Linked DNA regions of Homo sapiens: region 1 is linked to region 2. The links are contacts of gene promoters, found by promoter capture Hi-C in human tissues and cell types (Jung and others, 2019). All regions are on one chromosome and are shown on one strand. The core of a region is centred on a gene start or on the middle of the fragment in contact, and the rest is flanking DNA. Distances in the headings are between cores, read along the strand shown. Region 1 has its middle 26 kb from the start of TLR3. Region 2 holds the start of PDLIM3 (PDZ and LIM domain 3).

The links. Contacts are between HindIII fragments. The study calls those that stand out against the background at their distance.
Region 1: a fragment that was not itself captured here is called in contact with the fragment with the promoter of PDLIM3 in region 2 in 1 of the 25 tissues and cell types used here (mesendoderm cells).

The regions. Positions count from the first base shown.
Region 1 is chr4:186,041,426-186,044,870 of GRCh38, forward strand. No RefSeq gene overlaps it. Among named protein-coding and RNA genes, the nearest start is that of TLR3, 26 kb to the right of the region's middle. The HindIII fragment of the contact is 6,003 bases long and covers 1-3,445 here.
Region 2 is chr4:185,533,091-185,536,865 of GRCh38, forward strand. PDLIM3 (PDZ and LIM domain 3) reads right to left here and starts at 2,417. Exons shown (of 8, transcript NM_014476.6): 1 at 2,252-2,417. The coding sequence starts at 2,344. The HindIII fragment of the contact is 14,334 bases long and covers 1,165-3,775 here.

The DNA.
Region 1 (3,445 bases), core at 373-2,872, 510 kb after region 2:
ACTTTCCCAGGAATGTTCACAACAACAACTTTCCTTATAATACACGAAACCTAGAAATAAGACAGGTGATCACTGACAGGAGAGTGGATAACTATAGAATTATACAGGGGAATACTACACAGCAATAGAAAGAAATAAACTGCTGATACAAACGGTAGCATGAACGACTCTCAAAAACATTATGCTGAGTGGAGCCAGGCGCGGTGGCTCACACCTGCAATCCCAGAACTTTGGGAGGCCAAGGTGGGTAGATCGCCTGAGGTCAGGAGTTTGAGACCAGCTTGGCCAGCATGGTGAAACCCCGTCTCTACTGAAAATATAAAAGTTAGCTGGGTGTGGTGGCAGGTGCCTATAATCCCAGCTACTTGGGAGGCTGAGGCAGGAGAATTGCTTGAACCCAGGAGGCAGAGGTTGCAGTGAGCTGAGATCACACCACTGCACTCCAGCCTGGGTGACAGGGGGAGACTCTGTCTAAGAAAAAACAAACAAACAAACAAACAAATACCATTATACTGAGTGAAAGAAGCCACGTAATATATTATTCTATCTATTGGAAATTCCAGAAATAGGCAAAAACTTACCTGTGGTAAAAAAGATATCAGAACAGCAGATGCTTCTGGGAGAAGGTGTCTGGGGAATACTGGCAGGGAATGAGCTAGAGAACTTCCTGGACCAAAGCAATAACGTTTCTATCTCTTCTTTTTTTTTTTTTTTTTGGAGACAGGGTCTCACTCTGTTGTCCATGCTGGAATGCAGTGGTGTGGTCACAGTTCACTGCAGCCTCAACCTCCTGGGTCAAGTGATCCTTCTGCCTCAGTCTCCCAAGTAGCTAGGACCACAAGCATGCACAACCACACCCAGCTAATTTTTGCATTTTTTTGTAGAGACAGGGTTTTGCCATGTTGCCCAGGCTGCGTTCTATATTTTAATGATGTGTTCATTTATCCACATTGATCAAGTGAAAACTTAAGATTTATGCATTTTCATTGCATGTAAATATTATCTAAAAAACACTTTAAACAAATATCCAACTCTACTTAACGATGTGCCTTGGGAAGACTAGGAGTGAAGTATATAGATGTCTGAAATTTACTTTCAAATGCATCAAACAACAAGACGGATTAAGAGAGGGATGGATAGATGGATGATTATGTGGTAAAGCAAATACAGTAAAACGTTAATTGTGCACTTAATCTTAGCCAAACGGCCGAGAAGCGATAAACGTTAATTGTGGAAGCTAAGGAATGGTATGTGGGTGTTCCCTGTACAATTTTTTCAGCTCTTCTATATGGTTGAACTGTTGGAAAATGGTGAATATAAAGAATCTCAGTGAATGTTCTGAAAGAAAGTCAATTTCTTTGTAATTGGATATGTAACTTAGAATGTCATTAATAGAATTTGAAGGACCAAACTCGAAGTTTAAAATAGAGGTGAGATTTTTAAAAAGGAATCGTGAAGTTTATCACCTCATTTATTCTGAGAAGCAGTTTATTATTTCAAGGTTTCACTGACAACCATAAACACTTGCGCAGATCCATGATGGTACCTCCCAGCTGTGAAATACACATATATGAACACACACATACACACAGAATTGATACCATGATGGTACCTCCCACCTGTGAAATATACATATATGAACATACACATGCACACAGAATTCGTACCATGATGGTACCTCCCAGCTGTGAAATACACATATATGAACATACACATGCACACAGAATTCATACCATGACGGTACCCCCCACCTGTGAAATACACATATATGAACATACACATGCACACAGAATTCGTACCATGATGGTACCGCCCACCTGTGAAATACACATATATGAAAATACACATGCACACAGAATTCGTACCATGATGGTACCGCCCACCTGTGAAATACACATATATGAACATACACATGCACACAGAATTCGTACCATGATGGTACCGCCCACCTGTGAAATACACATACATGAACATACACATGCACACAGAATTCGTACCATGATGGTACCTCCCACCTGTGAAATATACATATATGAACATACACATGCACACAGAATTCGTACCATGATGGTACCTCCCACCTGTGAAATACACATATATGAACATACACATGCACACAGAATTCATACCATGATGGTTCCGCCCACCTGTGAAATACACATATATGAACGTACACATGCACACAGAATTCATACCATGATGGTTCCGCCCACCTGTGAAATACACATATATGAACGTACACATGCACACAGAATTCATACTAACATTGCCAAAGTCCAGAACAACATATTTTAATAACTCTTCCGTGTACATCTGCATCTTCTTTCTTCCACAAGATGCTGATTTTCAAGGATGCAGATGATAGAATATTCAATGATTATTTATGTTCTTTATCCCGCATCATGCACAGTGTGCTGACTGTGAATATTTGGGTGTATATGCATATGAATGTCTGCCACATGTGATGTCAGAGGTAGAGACTACTTTACCACTTTCACATTTGGTAAACTCATAGGAAAGATGGCAAAAGGGGCCGGGCGCAGTGGCTCACGCCTGTAATCCCAGCACTTTGGGAGGCTGACGCAGGTGGATCACTTTCATGCGCGTCCGTGTGAAGAGACCACCAAACAGGCTTTGTGTGAGCAACAAGGCTGTTTATTTCACCTGGGTGCAGGCGGGCTGAGTCCGAAAAGAGAGTCAGCGAAGGGAGATAGGGGTGGGGCCATTTTATAGGATTTGGGTAGGTAAAGGAAAAAGGGGGGTTGTTCTCTGACAGGTAGGAGTGGGGGTCACAAGGTGCTCAGTAGGGGAGCTTTTGAGCCAGGATGAGCCAGGAGAAGGAATTTCACAAGACAATATCATCAGTTAAGGCAGGAACAGGCCATTTTCACTTCTTTTGTGGTGGAATGTCATCAGTTAAGGCAGGAACCGGCCATCTGGATGTGTACGTGCAGGTCACAGGGGATATGATGCCTTAGCTTGGGCTCAGAGGCCTGACATTCCTGTCTTCTTATATTAATAAGAAAAATAAAACGAAATAGTGGTAAAGTGTTGGGACTGGAAAATTTTGGGGGATGGTATGGAGAAATAATGGGCAATGTTTCTCAGGGCTGCTTTGAGCGGGATTAGGGGCGGCGTGGGAACTTAGAGTGGGAGAGATTAAGCTGAAGGAAGATTTTGTGGTAAGGGGTGATATTGTGGGGTTGTTAGAAGAAACATTTATCGTGTAGAATTATTGGTGATGGCCTGGATATGGTTTTGTATGAATTGAAAAACTAAACGGAATAAAAGAAGGAGAAAAACAGGTATTAAAGGTCTAAGAATTGGGAGGACCTAGGACATCTAATTAGAGAGTGCCTAAGGAGGTTCAGCATAGCCTTGCCAGCAAAGATTATTTATTTACTTTAAGAGTTAAGAGTGGCGGTTTGGGGATAGCACCAGGAGA
Region 2 (3,775 bases), core at 1,167-3,666:
TCATTTGCAAAAGGGGATGTCACTACTGCTACTCTCCTAAAGATTATTGTGAGATTTCAGTGAGTTCGTGCACATAAAAGGTTCCCATCAATGCCTGGCAAGCAAGAGAGTACAATAACACACTTACAACCTCACACACTGCCTTTCAAAATGGTGTTAAAATGTTAAAAGCAGTACAACAATTCACCATTTAACAATACTGATAGTTATTTTTCTGTAATACTTTTCTGTAATACTTTTTATTCTTTTCCTTAACAAATTTCAATATTCTTATCATTTCAGTGAAAATATTCTGAATTAGGTGTTCACTAAAGCATAAAAGTTCTTATTGAATAAATAAATGTTCTTATTTATTCAATAAGAATCTACTATATACCTGGCTTTGGGGACACTTGGGATACAAAAATGATTTGGTTTTACCTGCTGTCCTAGAATTAATTAAAGAGAAAAGCCATAATCAAGTGAAATCATATTTGGTCATAAACTGTTATTGAACCAAATGTCAAAAATGAGTGATACAAATTAGTTATGAGTTAGGAATTCCAGATAGAATTGGTTTCCCTAATAATAACTGCCATTATATCAAATATATTTACCAATAGCTATTGTAGTCCAACTCTGGAATGTAAGTACTGCTTTAAAATAAACATTTATAATGTCAACAACTCAAAATTTCAAGCATATGATTAATTATATTGACATACGATTATACTATAATAGCAAAATATTTCTTTTATAAACACCTTAAAAGTTTTCGTGACAAAATTATTTTGGTTAGAATTTAATATAAATATGATTTATTCTGTGTTAGGATTCAAAAGCTTATTCAATTTAAATAAAAACCATACTCCAGAAACTAAAACATTTCTTAGTAGATATAACGGAAACTGTTTTTGTTGGTAAATCTATAATAGGAATTGCTTGGCCCAGGTCACTGAAGCATTTTCTGCTTACTTTACTTAGGAACGTTTTTGGGGGTATGTTGAACAGTTTTCATGTTTCATATAAAAACACGTCAGATGTGTTTATATGTTTTTGAAAAATGTAAAACAAGGCTTGAAACGTTCCATTGTATGCGTCTGTAGGATACACATTTTGACATATTTTTAAAAGGATGTTGGTTCCCAAATCTCATAGGCATATATAAATAAAACAGAATTTAAAAGGTATTACCTTGTTCAAAATCTGTATGAGCAGATCAATCAGATTATAACACATACAATTATAAAATATGGCATGAGAAGAATACAAGAAAATAAAGTATAATACTCTGCAACTAAAAGTATAATATTCTGGAAGTTTACGCCTTTAGGTATTAAATGTTTTATATGTGATAACTGAAATAATACATTAATTTTCTATGAAGAAAAACATTGTGTTAGAAAAAAACCAGCTAGACCAAATAATGCTTTAGAATTAATTCTACAAATTTACTGACAGGAGAGAAACCCTGAGGTTTTATTTTTACCTTGTTTTCTCATTAGACAGTAGAGAACACCAAGTAAAGCTTGACTTTGACATTAAAGCATTATTTTCCGTTTTAGGCTGAGTGGTTTACTTTGCATCAGGTAAACTAAACTGTCTGCCACGTTTTCTTTGTAGCTAGAGTTAGAAGTTGGTAATTCCTAAGCCAAGTTCTCAGCTTTGGAAAACGTGCTCAAAATGCCTGGAAACTGAGGAGTGAGCATTAGGAAGACTTCCCCTGTCTGGGCTGATAGGAGCGGCTCCAGTTTGGCCAACGCAGGTCGTGCCCCGCGAACAGCGCGCTGCTGAACTTTTCATCCGGACGAGAAAAACGCTCAGATGCGCGCCAGCTCCAGGGAATGCCGGGGGGTGCCAGTCCCTCGCCTCTCCCACCCGGGACCCATCATTTGTTACGGAAGGGCGATGGGGTGTGTTTTATTTCTGTTATCACATATAAAACATTTAAAACCTAAAGGGGAGGAGGCACTCGAGCCTGGCAGCCTCGCCTTCCCTGAGCCCAGTGGCTCTCCTCGGAAAGTCGCTGCGGACCCAGAGGATGGGACACCTTTAGAGCGGACTTTGTCAAATCTCTGAGCCGCTCCGCAGCCACTTGACGGAGTTGCCGCCGCCCCCGGAGCTGGGCGCCGAAGCCCGGGAGCCAGCAGCGCCCCGTCCGCCCGCCCTCGCGCGCTTTCTGGCCGCCCTCGGCCCCGGGGCATCCACTGCGTCCCCCCGGACGCCGCCGGAGTCCCCACCTCGCAGCAAAAGCAAGAATGCCGACACCTACCCTGGTGATGACCAAAGGCTGGTTGAAGTCTATGCCCCCTGAGAGCCTGAAGCCCCAGGGCGCAGGGCCCGGGAGGATCACCGTCTGGGGCATGCCGCCTTCCTCCCGCCCACCGGGCTCTAAGTGTCCCCGCGCAGGGCAGCCACTCCGCGCCGGGCGGCGTCCTGGCCCCGACCCGGGCGGGGGCGCTTTATCCCCGCTGGGGGTGACGTCACCGCCCCGCCGTCCTCCCCGCCCCCTCCCACCCCGGAGAGCTCCAACTTTGGAAGCGAGAGCCGCGCCAGCCCCGCGGGAGTGCGCAGCCCGGCCGGCTGGGGCAGCCTCCCGGGCCGCGGCGGGCGCGGGGGCTTCGGGTTACAGCGTCCGTCGCTCTCTTGAAGTCACACCTGTCTCCCTGTTTATCTTCTGCTTGGAGCGCAGCAGTGCACTTTGTTGGAAGCGAAAGCAGCCAGACCACAGCCTCCATGCTTTCAATTAAAACGAGCATCATCGATACAATAAGTTATTTAGCAGTTTCGAGTGCGTTAATATTTACTTACGACCTCTGCGGCTTTGGCCAAATTACTTAATGTCCTTTTAAATTTTTATTTTATTTATTTATTTTTCTTAGAGACCGGGTCTCCACTTTGTTGCCCAGGCTAGTCTTGAACTCCTGGGCTCAAACAATCTTCCCACCTCAGCCTCCCAAAGTGCAGGAGAGTCTGGCCGGGGTCCTGTGGTAGTCTCAGTGTGGACTCAAGTATTTCTGGTGTTACGCGTTGGGATGTTGTGATTCCCAAAGGGAGAGGGGAGAATGAGGGAAGAGAAATAAGAAATGCTTTAAACACTCAAGAATAAGGGTCTTGGACTTAATGCCCCATATGATAGGGTCGTATTGGTCCAGGAGGACAGAGCTGCAGCAGACTTTTAAGAGGGCAGTCTGTTTGGAAGCAGTTTTAAGACTGATGGAGGAAAGAGAAAGGAGATGCAGAAAGCAGTAAGCAGTAAGCAGTAAGCAAAGCGAACCAGCCTGGGCAAATGTAAATCACAAAGGTAGGATGGGCATTACTTTGTCCGCTGTGGTGGATTACATAAAAGTCCCAGGGGATAAGCACTTTCTAGCTCCACACATTTCCCAGTGCCCCATCTATGCTGGACCATCGAGGAGCTGAACATTGTGTGTCCTGCTGACTGCCTGTTTGGGCTGTGGCTGTATCACTGCAGAGCACATTTCTTCAGTCAGCTGCTGGCTCTGTCTGCGTGGTGCAGACATACACGTGCACACACACAGAGGTCCATTCAGAAAAAAAAAATCAGACAAGTCATTTGGTGTTGTGTAATTATAGTAATTGTTTTTACCTTACTTCACGAGCTGGCTTATATAAACAGCTGATTTTTTCTTTGCCTTTTTGCTGGTCATTTTGGCATCATTTAGATGTAGCCAATATCTATACAATATCCACATAATATCTGATGAGTTCTTTCTTTTTGTTTTTTTTTTTTTTTTTTGGAGACAGAGTCTTAATCTGTCACCCAGGCTTGATG